2 separate regions of the Homo sapiens genome follow, and region 1 is linked to region 2. The links are contacts of gene promoters, found by promoter capture Hi-C in human tissues and cell types (Jung and others, 2019). All regions are on one chromosome and are shown on one strand. Each heading gives the region's core, a stretch centred on a gene start or on the middle of the fragment in contact. The rest is flanking DNA. Distances are from core to core; before and after follow the strand shown. Region 1 overlaps PSMD11 (proteasome 26S subunit, non-ATPase 11). Region 2 holds the start of RHBDL3 (rhomboid like 3).

Region 1 (6,771 bases), core at 2,602-5,101, 210 kb before region 2:
GGCCGTGCTTAAGTCTCTTGTTCTCTGCCCATCTGCCTGCCCTTCACTGCTACACACAATAAACAGACTCTTATCCCACACACCCAATACAGAAAACAGGTACAACACATGCAGTGACTAAAAGCGAGGAGGAAACTGCTCAGAACACATGCAGGGGCAACCCACATGCCTCTACCCACAGCATCTCTCTCCTCGATTTTTGTTCATTTTATCAACAGAGGCCCAAGCTCTTGGTGGCCTCTTGCCCACCAGGCACACCCCTAGAAGTGAGTTCCCATTCTGGACAGGTGTGGAAGGGAGGTGGCTACAGTGAGAATGCCTGGCCAGAAATGGAGTCCCCAGAGGGTTCTCACCTGTACTCTGGAAAAAGGCTCAATGACTCGGATCAGATTCTGTTCTAGTAAGTTATCATACAACTTGGCCAAGTGTGTGCTGATGATTGGGTCATCCCGGAGCTCTGCCCGGTAATCTGTCAGAGCCTGCCAAAGGAACCAGTTGCAGAGATTGGCACAGAGAATCACTTTAAAGTCATGCTACTCCTGCTTCCTAGATAGTCTGCTGGCCCTTATAAAACTACATGGTTGAATGAAGTTAGGGGAGATCTGGGGAGATGCATGATACAAAGCAGAAAAGGAATGTCAAGAACTGAAAGGGAAGTTTGGCTTGGTGGCACGCACCTGGAGTCCCAGTCACTCGGGAGGCTCATGTGGGAGGACTGCTGGAGCCCAAGAGTTCAAGTCCAGCTTGGGCAACACAGAGAGCCTCCATCTCTAAAAATAAATTTTTAAAAATGCTATTTTATGGTAGTCTCTAAGAGAAAAAAAAAATACAAAATAGAACAAAAAGGTGGAGTCACCCTAGGGACCATCTTTCTGTCTGCAGGCTTCAGGTGAACAGCTCAAACCATGTAAGCCCCAAGAGCAACTCAGCTCATGAACCAAATTAGCTACACAAGCATTTCTCAGCATGTATTCTACAGAATAAATAGGGTCTCCATGGGGGGGAAAAAAAGAACATTGAGGTTAAAGAATAGGAAATGCTGAATTCCACAACTAGCTCTTGGGAGTTTTATGAGGACCATCAGCATAACATGGCTCTGCAATGATTAAGCAAAATTAGGTGTTTTAATTATTATTAGCCCTAGTATTTTGTTTAGCCCTAGTATTTCCCAAATATCTAATCACAGAATCCTTCTTCCAAGGAACTATTTGGAATAAAAGTGTCCCATCAAACATCTCAGACATTGGGATAAAATGATCTAGACCAAGTATTCATGTGTGTGATTTACTGGACCATCAGTAATGGTCTCAACATCCCAGCCTCATGTCAGCTGTGCTACAAGGTGTTAAGGGAAGCAGGCGAATCATGCCAAGTAAGACGCAATAGGAATTGGCAAGAGCCCTCCAGGAAGATGGTGAATCTCAGGGACAGTCAAAGCCACATGGTCTAGTCTCCATCCACACTAAGTTTTTCTCTCTGGATCTAGGTTTTGTTTTTATTAAGTTGATCATTATACTCAGACTAAAAGGAGAGAGGTTCAGGAAAGACTATATAATTCTCACCCTAATGCCCAGACAGGCTTTTCTCCCTTTTCAAAACTCCCAAACAATGAGCAAAATGCACCAGGGTTAAAGAAAGCCTAGATCATCACCCTGAGGACGTTTCTTTGGGTCCAAGTACGCACATCAAGACTTCCCTTCTGTCCACAGAGGAGCAGACCTGGCATTTCTGGAGCTGAAGGAATGCCTACAACTGTGTCATGTGGAACAAGCACTAGGCCTAGAGTCAAACTCTGACCCTATGCTGTGTGACTTTGAGTGTCCTCCTGAATCCCAGTTCCCTTAACCATAAAATGCAGATAATAAATAGGTGTGTTGTGAAAAATCAAAGTGAAAAAAGGACAGAAAGAACTTTTGAAATAGAAAGGTATTATGTATAAATAATATATATTTTATATCAACTCAGTAAGTTTCATTGTACAAAGTGCTTAACTATTTCCTGGTTTTAATACTGTCCTAGGTGAAGGATACATGGAATCATTTGCAACTTCTTTTGAAACTATAATTATTTTTAAAAGTGTGTTTTGAAGTACTTAAACGTCCCTCTCTTCCACTCACATTCCATACCAACCCAATATCATACTCACCTTTTCAAAATCTGCCAGTGATCTGTTCTTGCTAGCCTGAGCCACGCATTTTAATGCTTCTGTCTGAGAATAAAGAGACAAACCATGAAAGCGATTTATTCTGCACACTAACATTTACCCAAGTCTCATAAGCAGTATGCTGTGTCCACACAACTTCTGCCAAAAGGAAGAACCCGCCCCACCATCGTTCTTCTTCAGACGCCCGGGAAGAAGAGCCGCAAGTACTGAATACCACTATATGCCAACCTGTTTCCCTTTGAAACCTGAAATGACTTAATAATACTAGGAAACAGAAATTTTCCAAACAGACCGACCCTAATATAGCATTCTCTAGAGATGACAAGCTAAAAGGAAAAATGACAAGAGAACTGTGATTTCTTCTCCCTTCCTCCAAGGCTTGTTATCGCCACATCCACCCAAACTCCTTCTTGCCCTTAGACCCTATTATATCTGTGCTTTATCAAGATTCATTCTGCTAGGTTTGGAACAAGGCACTGAACAAGGTCTACCTCATTAACACTGAGGCATCAAGGCCAGGCACAGTGGCTCACACCTGTAATCCCACCACTTTGGGAGGCCGAGGTGGGCAGATCACTTGAGGTTCAGGAGTTCGAGACCAGCCTGGCCAACATGGTGAAACTCCCTTCTCTACTTAGCCGGGCATAGTGGTGGACGCCTGTAATCCCAGCTACTTGGGAGGCTGAGGCAGGAGAATTGCTAGAACCCAGGAGGCAGAGGTTGCAGTGAGCCAAGATCATGCCACTGCACTGCAGCTGGGTGATAGAAAAAGAATCCGTCTCAAAAAAAGGTTGCGGCATTAACATATTACACCAAATGTTAAGACCCCACAGAGTGATGAAGGTATAATCAATAGTTGAGAACAACTTCTAACATGGTTAAAAAAGGCACCTGACCAAGCTATTAAGTCTCCACTCAGCAAAAAATCTGCAACACTCATCTTTCTGGGAGATTAGCCTATCTCCTGCTTAAAAGCTAACATCAAAGGCGCAAGGGACTAAGAGAAGCTGCTCTTTTATCAGCCTACATGCTTATATAAGAACAGTGTGTCTTATACAGTAGACTACATGGTGCAAGGCTAATCATTAGTGTGTTTGTCTCCAGCATTTGTCCTATAGACAGAAAAAAGTGTCAAAATGAGAAAAGCCTGGAACTTAGAGCCAATGACCCTAATTCAAAGTCTAGCTCCACCATTGATTAGCTACCTGACCTTGCCCTGAACACTTGGATGTCCCTGAGCCTGTCTCCTCAACTCTAGTTATAGTGAGAGTAGTGCATCTTTCTTATTTATTATTTTTTAAGACAGAGTCTCACTCTGTCGCCCAGGTTAGAGTACAGTGGTGCTATCTTGGCTTACTGCAACTTCCACTCCCCGTTTGAAGTGATTCTCCTGCCTCAGCCTCCTGAGTAGCTGGGATTACAGCCACCAATGCACTACCATGCCCGGCTAATTTTTGTATTTTTAATAGAGCTGGGATTTTGCCACATTGGCCAGGCTGCTCTCAAACTGCTGACCTCAAGTGATCCGCCCACCTCAGCCGCCCAAAGTGCTGGGATTACAGGCATGAGCCACCACGTCCAGCCCCTAATTGGCTTTTTATCAGCAAAAGTTTCAGGTCAGCTCCTGGTTTTGACCTCAAGAGTACCGGTTATTACTATACTGGAAGATGCGTGGCTGGATGCAGTGGCTCACACCTACAATCCCAGCACTTTTGGAGGTTGAGGTGGGCGGATCACTTGAGGTTAGGAGTTTGGGACAGCCTGGCCAAGATGGCAAAACCCTGTCTCTACTACAAAAAATTAGCCGGGCATAGTGGCGGATGCCTGTAATCCCAGCTACTCGGGAGGCTGAGACAGGAGAATCACTTCAAACTGGGAGGAGGAGGATGCAGTGAGCCGAGATACGCCACTGCACTCCAGCCTGAATGAAAGAATGAGACTCCAACTCAAAAAAAAAAAAAAAGCCAATTAGGGCCACTTGTAGAGAGGGAAGAAATCATCTATGTGGCCACTCCTCCAGAGATACAGTGAGATTATATAGACAGCCAATCAGTCTGTGTTTAGAGACCACTGCAGTTGAAATCCAGAAAGATTACACTTACTTTACTAGTGATAATCAAGCAAAATACAAAGAGGAGACAGTCTAGACGTCATCTTTGCGTAGGTCCTAACTGTCTGCTCTCAGAAGTCACACTCATACCTACTTGGGCATTAAGGTAACAAAAAAAAAAAAAGGGCCTCTTTTTGCACCACACCCAAAATTCAAAGCACGAGTAGAAAGGTACTGATCTGAGAAGCACAGAAGTAAATCTCAAAACCTAGTTTCTGCACCAAGCAATCAGACCTCTCTAAAGCACATATGCACCAGACCTTACCAGGCTCCTAACCTGGAGAATCTAAGATTTCATACCCTGCCTATGTTAAATTCACAACTCAGACTCGTGGTAGATAAATCTTCTGGTCAAAGCCAAATGCAAACTAACTCACTGCAAATGCTACAGTTCAGTTCCCTAAGTCCCTCAAACAACGTGATGTCCATAAGAGCACCAAACGCTGACTTTCCAGGCCAAGAATTTAACAGTCTGGGAAACACACTGAATGGGCTTAAGGGAAGGAAGTGAGTGGGGCAGAAGGAAGAGAGTAGTATGAAGATCTGAAGAGTGCTGGTCTCATCAAACGTTGTGACTCTGAAAACATGCTGGTCTCAGAGTGAGCAGAACTGCAGTCAAGGGAGTCCCTACCTGCCTCCCTGCATACCGAAGTGCAAGCTTCCCGCTCACCAAAGCCTGGACATCTTCTGGGCTAGAAAAAAAGACATACTTGGTCAATTGCTGCAGATGTTATGCTTCTAAAGGAAGGTTTGGGCAAATTTCTTTTTAACAGAATTCCATTGTAATAAAGACTCTGCCCACACAGACAATCAGCCCAACCCCTAAACCCATATGCCCATCACATTGCAAAAGCTAGGTTTTCTCCACTCTGGGTCACAGCTCAGCCTGAAGAGTAGAAAAACTCCAATGTTAGAAAGCTGAACTGAACCTACCAAAAGCAATAGACACAACAAGCAGAACTATAAGTTTAAGTCAAATCCCAGTGTAACAGGTATTATTAAAACATAGCCCTTATGTAATCCAAAGATCCAGAGAGAGTTCTTAGTCAATATTTCATTTATTCCCAAAAGAATTGAATAATTCTGTAGACTTCTTTATAAGTAGGTCTGTCATACTTTTGTTGTCCACTTTTTCAAACCTCTCCTTAACCCTTCCTTCCTCATTCTGGGTGGCTCAGTTGGCTGTTACTGGCTGATCTGTAAGCTATTTCCTGACCCTCTGTCCTGTGCTCTGCACCTATGAGGACAGAATATTTAAAGGATGAGGAGAATTCTCCAAGAGGAGCTGGGAAGGGGATTTCTAAAATGTCTGCCTGATTCTGAAAGACTAGCAAGCGAAAGTTTTCTGGACCACTTTTGATCCTCCCGCTCTACCTTAGCCAGCCCTAGAGGCCGCAGCTGCTGCTGTTTCTGTAACTGGCCAAACTCCCTGCTCAGGCCATCTCTGCCATGGCAAACAGACTTGCTGAAGGATCTGAGTTCTTGTAGTCCAGAGTTAAGGTGCACCTACGTGTTGAGCATGATTTTGCACAGCAACATGTACTTCAGAGATGTGATGGCCTTGGGGCTGTCGATGGAGTCATAACCCTCAAATGCCTCATAGAAGTATGAGTACGCAGTTTTCCAGTCCTTCTCTTCTGCTGCATGGATAATACCTGGGCATTGAAAAGAAAGGAATAAGAACATATAAAATAATAGAGCCATAAAAGATCAGAGCTGGGAGGCAGCTTAGACATCTACCTAAATGGGCACGGTGGCTCACACCTGTAAATCCACACTTTGGGAGGCTGAGATGGGAGGATCATGTGAGCCCAGGAGTTCGAGACAAGCCTGAGTAACATAGTAAGACCCCATCTCTTGAAAAAAAAAAAAATGCTGGGCACGGTTTCAGCTCACGCCTATAATCCCAGCACTTTGGGAGGCTGAGGCAGGCGGATCACCTGAGGTCAGGAGCTCAAGATCAGACTGACCAACATGGACAAATCCCATCTCTACTAAAATTACAAAAAAAATTAGCTGGGTGTGGTAGCGCATGCCTGTAATCCCTGCTACTCGGGAGGCTGAGGAAGGAGAATCACTTCAACCCAGGAAGCGGAGGTTGCGGTGAGCCGAGATTGCGCCACTGCACTCCAGCCTGGGCAACAAGGGCAAACTTCCGTCTCAAAAAAAAAAAGCCAGGTGCAGGGGTTCACTCCTGTAATCTCGGCACTTTTGAGAGGCTGAGGCAGGAGGATAGCTTGAGCCCAAGAGTTTGAGCCTAAGTAACAGAGTTAGATGTTGTCTCTTTATTTTTTTTTTTGAGCCGAGTCTCACTCTGTCACTGAGGCTGGAGTGCAATGGCGCAATCTCAGCTCACGGCAACCTCCGCCTCGTGGGTTCAAGCAATTCTCCTGCCTCAGCCTCCCAAGTAGCTGGGATTACAGGCACCCACTACCACGCCCGGCTAATTTTTTGTATTTTTAGTAGAGACTGGTTTCACCGTATGTTCGCCAGGCTA
Region 2 (6,915 bases), core at 3,043-5,542:
TCTCACTTTTTGGGAGGCCATCCTCCTGTCTCAGCCTCCCAAAATGCTGGGATTACCGGCGTTAGCCACTGTGCCTGGCCTAATTTCTTTCCTAGAATTAATTCTGGGCAGGCCTCCCAGAAGCAGGGGTATGCTCTTTGTGACACCCAGGACCCAGGACCTACCTTCAGTTGGAAAAATTCGATTTAATAGACCACTAGCTACTATTAGGTGCTACACATTCTTTCTGCTCCCTTGAGTTCCAAAATCTTCCTACTAAAAGCTCTCTTCCTTTCACCCAAATGGTTTGTTTTAAAATGTACACATACACACAGGGACTGGCAAAGGAAATTAATCAAATGAAAAAGATAGACACAGACAGAGAAAAAAAAAGAATGATACACTTTGTTCTAGGTTCTGATTCTAAATCTGGCAGGAGGTGTGAAGGGCTGGCAGCTTGGTGGTAGTGGTGGCAGTGGCGCAGCGGGCTCCCTCCTGCCTTGGGGCATCAGGCCAGCAGCTGCTGTACTCTTAGGAGCCAGAGGGAGAGATGCTCTACCCGTCAGGACAGGAGCCAGTGCATGCTTTGAACTTCAAACCACAGCCAGACCTCGTGGTTAATGTGGATGATCACCCCAAATCCTCACCCCAGGCCTTTCGCGCTGCAATTCCGTGTCATCACGCCCACTCCGGCATCTGCAACCGGCTGGCTCCTCTAACTGAACTTGTCTCAAACCAAAGTTGTCATTTTTGCCAAACGTCTCTCCTCACTCCAACTTGTTTTTTGTTTTTGTTTTGAGACAGGGTCCCACTCTGTCACTCAGGTTGGAGTGCAGTAGCACGATCGTGGCTCACTGCAGCCTCAACTTCCTGGGCTCAGGCAATCCTCCTGCCTCAGTCTCTCATGTAGCTGGAACCACAGGAGTGTGCTACCATGCCTGGCTGATTTTTTAATTTTTTGTAGAGATGAGGTCTCACTTTGTTGGCGAGGCTGGTCTTGAACTACTGGGTTCAAGTGATCCTCCCGCCTTAGCCTCCCAAAGTGTTGGGATTACAAGCGTGAGTCACCACACCTGGCCCCACTCCAACTTCTTTCCCTCCTAGGTTCAGAATCTCAAAGTTAGATATGTGGTTCCCCTCACCTACGGTCTATTAAGATCTTCCAATTCTTCCATCACCATGTCCCTCTTCCCGTCCATCCTCACTGTCACCTTCTTGCCTCTGTTCAGTGCTGCAGCTCCTGCCTAGCTTCCCTCATCCCCGTAGCCCATTCACTCCTTATCCCCTAAGACACTGGAGCTTTCCCAAGCCTGGCTTGGATCACATAACAACCCTGCTAAAAAACTTTCTAAGGCTTCCCCTGCCTACAACGAAGTCCTGGTTCAAGCTAATTTTTCAGCTTTATCTCCTTCTCCTACCCAACACATTCCCTCTGGCCCACTCACACCAATTTCTTAAAGTTGCACAAACTTCATGGCACAATCATTCTCACCCCAGGACTATAGCACTCAACTATCCTCCAACATGGGGCAAAGAGGGAGAAGGAAGCACATAACAGCACCCACCACGAATGCTAAGAGGAGAACCATTTCCTTGCTGAAGGTCAAATGTCCATCTCCAGGTTCAAAAGCCAATACTTGGCACCCCCAACTCCATGCCCTACACCTGGACTCCAGGCATTGCGAAGAATCACACACAATTTCCCCTCTGTAACCTCCCAGCACTCCCTCATCCCTATGACAGAATTAAAGACATTGAATTAGACTTCAAAAGAGTCCATACTGTGAGTCAGCCCCCAAGGATGGCAGAGATTTGACTTCAGCGGTGGCCATGGACCCTCCATAGTGGAGGTAGAAACGGAGAGGGATTGTCAGCCCAAGCCCTTCCCCCACCTCTCCAGCCCCCTACTGCAATCCCCTGGCATATGGAGGATTTCCCAGGCATTCAATATATAACGTCCAATTTCTACATGGTGTAAACCCGGCTCTGGTGCAGCAGAGTAGGGAGGAGGCAGGAGGGAGATCCTCTCAGGGGAGCCCATCTCTTCCTCCTGATACCTGGAGAGCAGTGTCGTTCAGCCCTAGAGATGCACAAAGCCACACCCCCACCCCACGTCACCATCTCAGGAGCGCGGAGCTAGGGAAGCCCACGCAAGCAGGGAGACTGAGACCGATTTCAGGGAGGGCTGGAAGGAAATGGGGGGTTAACTGCTCACATACCTGATCAAACAGGACTTTCCAGTGCTGGCAGAGAGGGAGGCCATGCAGGAGAGGAAGAAGAGGAGAGAAAGAAAGACACACTTATCACCAAGGTCTCTGTAGTCCTCGGATGTTTCTGACATAGCCTCCCAGCGGCTGCCCAGGAGTCATGACCAGGCTCAGGGACTGGCCACAGGAGAGCAGGGGAAGTCTGGGAGGAGCTCCCCAATGAGTCCACACTGAGCAGAGGGAGGAAACTCACAGTAAGGGATGGGGTGGGGGCGGGGGCGGCAAGGTGGGTGTTGCTGGTTCTGGAACTGGCAGAACAAGTGATTCTCAACAATTACTAAATAAAGGCGTCCAAATATGTCCAAGCGCCTCTAATAATTTCTGCTGCCTAAAGCTTATGTCCACAGCTACTCCCAGGCCTGGGAGAGCATGGCCAGGTGCAATTCCATCAGACCCCGGCGCAATGAGTCTCACCTGCTGGGAGCTAGAGCCCCCCCCTCCCCCCCCAGGAGAACTCACCTCTGCATAAACACTAACATTTTGCCTGCAGTTTTTTGTTTGTTTGTTCGTTTTTTGTTTTTTTGCGGGGAAGGGGGGGTGGTGAATGCCGAATGCGGTGAAGCCCACCCATTCTCTTCCAAGGCTGAGTCTAAGTGGTGACTACATCAGATTCTGCCAGGGGTTTAGGGCCAGAAGGAAGTGATAGATTTAACCGCAGACGCCAAAGAGAGAAGATCGTAAACTACCCCCCAACCCCATTCAGACTTTCCCGCTTTCGTTGTGTGGGTTGGGGGCCTGGTTTCACTTCCATCTCCCCACCCTGAGGGAGGAGTGGGCAGGGCAGGGTGTCTGCCCGGTTTTTCACCCCTATGTGTAGGTTAGCCCCGGGAGGTTAACCCAAGAAACTCCAGTTCCCAGGGCTTCGCAGGGCCGGCCCGCAGGACCGGAGGGATGGAGACCCGAGCAGCAGACGGCGGGGAAGCCCTCGGGGCAGCCCCTCCCTCTCCTCGCCCAGGGGACCGTCCCCTGGCACCGCCACGGTCTTGGACTCCCGGGCCTCCTTCTAGGAGCAAAGCCGCTCCCAGCACTCTTTGCCTCCCTGCTCCGGCCGGGGTCAGAGGCGGGGGCCGGCTTGAATTTCAATCAGTGTCGCGGCAAGGCAGGTGCCGGGCGGGAGCTAATCCGGGAGCGGAGGAAGGGGTCGCCAGGCCGGCTTGCATGGCCAGGGACGGGGACTCTGCGGCGTCCGCTCCTTCCCCAGCTCCGGGAGCTCGCAGGTCGCGGGCGTGAGGGGAGGGGGAGTCACCGCCGTGACGCGGCCGCCTCTGCGGGAAAACGCCGTGTCCCGGGCACTGCACCAGCGGCGGGGAGGGGGCTCCGGCGGTGACAGGTCCGCGGCGCAGTGGCGGTGCTGTGTCCCGCAGGGAAGCCGCGGGAACCAGAGCGGGGGAAGCGGTGCGCGCGCGTTTCGGGGAGACCGGTCCCTCCGCCCCCTCCTGCCCGCGGGGACCCGGCCAATCCGGGGCGCTCCCGCGTCACCCTGAAACCTCCAAGTTGCCCGGCGTGGGGCGAGACAGGGGCGGCTTTTCCCCCCGGCGCCCCCTAGAAAGTTTGCCGGGCGGGGAGGGGGCACTCACGTCCTCCGGCGCCGCGGGCAGCCGCTCCTCGGCCTCGGGTTCCAGCTCCTCGATGCGCTCCGCCTCGGCGCAGGCGGCCACCGCGGGGCCCGGGCTGGGGTGCTCGCCCATGGCCGAGACGGGGTCCGGGGGCGGCGGCGGCTGCGGGGCTCGTCCCGGGGCGCCGGGCTAACTTTGCGCCGCGGCGGCCGCGCCGCTCCAGGGGCTCAGTGCGCGCCGCGCCGCCTCCGCGCCCGCTCCGCAGCCCGCGCCCGCCCCCATGGCCCCGGTCCCCGCGCCGCCGCCGCCTCCTCGCGACCCCGGGACGCCCGGCCCCTCCGCCGCCAAACTTCACTGCGCTAGCTGCCCCGCCGGCCTCCGCCTCCGCCCCGGCCCTCGCGCCCGGCTCCGAGGCGAGGGCGCCCTTGGGCCGGCCCCGGCCCCGCCGCTCCCCGCGCTCCCTTCCCGCTTCTCGCGGCCCCCGCTCTGCGCCCGAGTCTCCTCCTCCCCGCGGAGTCCTCGGGGGCGGCGCGCGGGCGGGGGCGGGGCTGCTCGCGGGGAACGCCGGCCCCCGCCCCGCACCCCACCCCGGGCGCCGCCACCCGGGCCCAGTCGGTCAGAGCGGCGCGGCCCGGGAGCGGGAGGGCTGCGGCGGGGCTGGCGAGGAAGTGGTGGCGCTGCCCGGGGCGGGGATGGGGACTGCGCCGTCCCCGGCCCGGTCACCACCGGCCTGCACTCCGGGCCCGGGCTTGGCTCTTCCATCGGCTTAACCATCACTTGGAGGTGGCAGATATGTGATGGAGACACTATGTTGGCGACGTCAGGGTTAACTAGGAGTGAATTGGGGGCGCGATGTTGTAAGGACGGGATTCCTGCCTCCCGCCCCATTATCCTTACGCCCTATTCACTGCGGTCTCAGATTCTGGGAGGTCTCGGGAGGCCCAGAAATGGGAGAAGTCAGATTGCGGGGTCGTGGGCCCCAAAGCCTAAATCTTGCCCTTCCTACACCCAGAGCTAAGTGACCATGCCCAGGCTTCATTTGACCACATGGACAAAGGTAAGCCCAGGGAAATGCCCCATCTGGGGAGAGGGACGGTAAAGAAACTAAAGCAATCAGAAAGGAAGTTAGCCAAAACGGAGTAGGGGATCTTTTAAAGAAAACAATCGATGCTGTTTCCCTGCAGGAAAGCGCCCCCAAGAGAGACCATCTCCCGAAGCAGAGGCTCTGGCTGTAAATGGTGCTAGTGGCCGGCCTGGCAGGGGCCAGCTCTCCCCAGAGGCTCAGGAGCTTCTCCAGGAGGCATCTCGCAGTCAGTCCCCAGCCCACACCAAGGCTGTGCCCTTCCACTCCTCTTGCTTTCCTCTTCCCACCACCCACTCACTCACTAGTCTTTGCCCTCTTCCTTCCTCTGGGAAACGGAACAGGCTCCTTTCCATTAGTGAGAGCTGCAACTAATGCAGTCATCTTCAGAAAGCAAAGACATAACCCCGTGCCCAGGATCCGAACTGCGACCATCACCCAGCAATGACTGCTCCCCTTAAACACCGAGAAGGGAATTCACTTGATTCTAATTAGGTGAGTTTGCTACAGACACCAATTTTCATCTCTGTTTCAGAAAGTGTGATCATTTCAACTATTTTTGTTTCTCACCACCCTCCTCCCCATCCCTACTCTACTAACAAGTCAAGATCCTGCCAAGATTTCCTTGTAAATAAAACTGTCTGCATGGGGTGTGATTTTGAAAACAGCCTTCAGGGGACAGAAGAGAGGCTGATTCCTTTGTGAAGAGGAGCCCAGAAGGACAAATGACCGCTGGGGCCCTGGGGTCTGTGTCGCTGCCTCCCGCATCCCAGGCTGTCATTTGCATGACCGGTATGGGTGTTGGCTCTGTTATACTTAGATCTCTGGGACTAGAGAAGTGGGCCAGGAAGTCTGGTTCCAGGGGAACTGGAAGGAGAAGGGCACAGAAAAGGGTTGGCCACTCTGCTGGGATGCCCAGCCACCCTGGACAGTGTTCTGATACCAGCTACCCAGGGAGCTGCCTCTTCATCAGCCCAGGGACAGCTCTTATCAACATATCCAACTCTGTCATCCCTTCGTGGGGAAGGGAGCTTAGCAGGCTCAGTTCTGTTCCTGAACATGTATTAAGCTCCTACTAAGTACCAATGACAGAGCTTTGAGAATACAGAGGTGGATAAGAACCAGACCCTGCCCTCCAGAAATGGATAATTGGGGGTGACAGTCACATTCAACACAAGGGTAAGTCCTGGATTCAAGGGAAGCCCAGAAGGTGTAGAACTCCAAAGGAGGGGGTCGCTGTGGGTCCAGGAAGGCTTCCCAAAGGATAAGCCTCCAGAACTAGGCAACATGGAAAAGGTGAAGGAGGTGTTCCAGGTAGAGGGAACAGCACGACCAGGCTTGTGGAGCAGCATCATATGGGAGGCAAACGACAAGCAGTTTGGCATGGCTGGAAACTGGAGCACGATGACCAATCTAAAGAGCCCAGCCTGGACGGGAAGGTTGTGAGGGGCTGTGAGTTTCATGGGAAAAGAGCTTGGACTTTACCTAAGGGCAATAGGGAGCCATTGAAGGATTGTGAGCAGTAGAGTAATATTTAAAAGATCCCTGGCCAGGCGCGGTGGCTCACGGCTGTAATCCCAGCACTTTGGGAGACCAAGGCGGGCGGATCACGAGGTCAGGAGATCGAGACCGTCCTGGCTAACACGTTGAAACCCTGTCTCTACTAAAAAAATACAAAAAATTAGCCGGGCGTGGTGGTGGGCGCCTGTAATCCCAGCTACTCGGGAGGCTAAGGCAGGAGAATCACTTGACCACAGGAAGCGGAGCTTGCAGTGAGCCGAGATCTGCCACTGCACTCCAGCCTGGGCGACAGAGTGAGACTCCGTCTCAAAACAAACAAAAAAGATCCCTTTGGCTGTAGTGTAGAGTCTAGACAGGAGGGAGGTTGGCCTGAGCAGAGGGCCATGAGAGGTGCTGTCCAAGGAAGAGGTCACAAGGGCGGCAGCAGTTAGAATAAAAGGGAGAGGGAAGATGGGAAACATCCAGAAGGCTATCTTGTTCCTCCTTCTGTCCCTAGGAACATTTACCCCGC

What was found. Contacts are between HindIII fragments. The study calls those that stand out against the background at their distance.
Region 1: a contact is called between a fragment that was not itself captured here and the fragment with the promoter of RHBDL3 in region 2, in 1 of the 25 tissues and cell types used here (dorsolateral prefrontal cortex).

Annotation. Positions count from the first base shown.
Region 1 is chr17:32,472,959-32,479,729 of GRCh38, reverse strand. PSMD11 (proteasome 26S subunit, non-ATPase 11) reads right to left here. Exons shown (of 14, transcript NM_002815.4): 7 at 5,785-5,929; 8 at 4,906-4,966; 9 at 2,147-2,209; 10 at 354-479. Among named protein-coding and RNA genes, the nearest start is that of CDK5R1, 11 kb to the left of the region's middle. The HindIII fragment of the contact is 5,751 bases long and covers 976-6,726 here.
Region 2 is chr17:32,263,209-32,270,123 of GRCh38, reverse strand. RHBDL3 (rhomboid like 3) reads right to left here and starts at 4,292. Exons shown (of 9, transcript NM_138328.3): 1 at 3,824-4,292; 2 at 2,199-2,222. The coding sequence starts at 3,934. LOC105371731 (a long non-coding RNA gene) reads left to right here and starts at 4,673. Exons shown (of 3, transcript XR_934665.2): 1 at 4,673-4,859; 2 at 5,228-5,378. The HindIII fragment of the contact is 17,639 bases long and covers 1,058-6,915 here.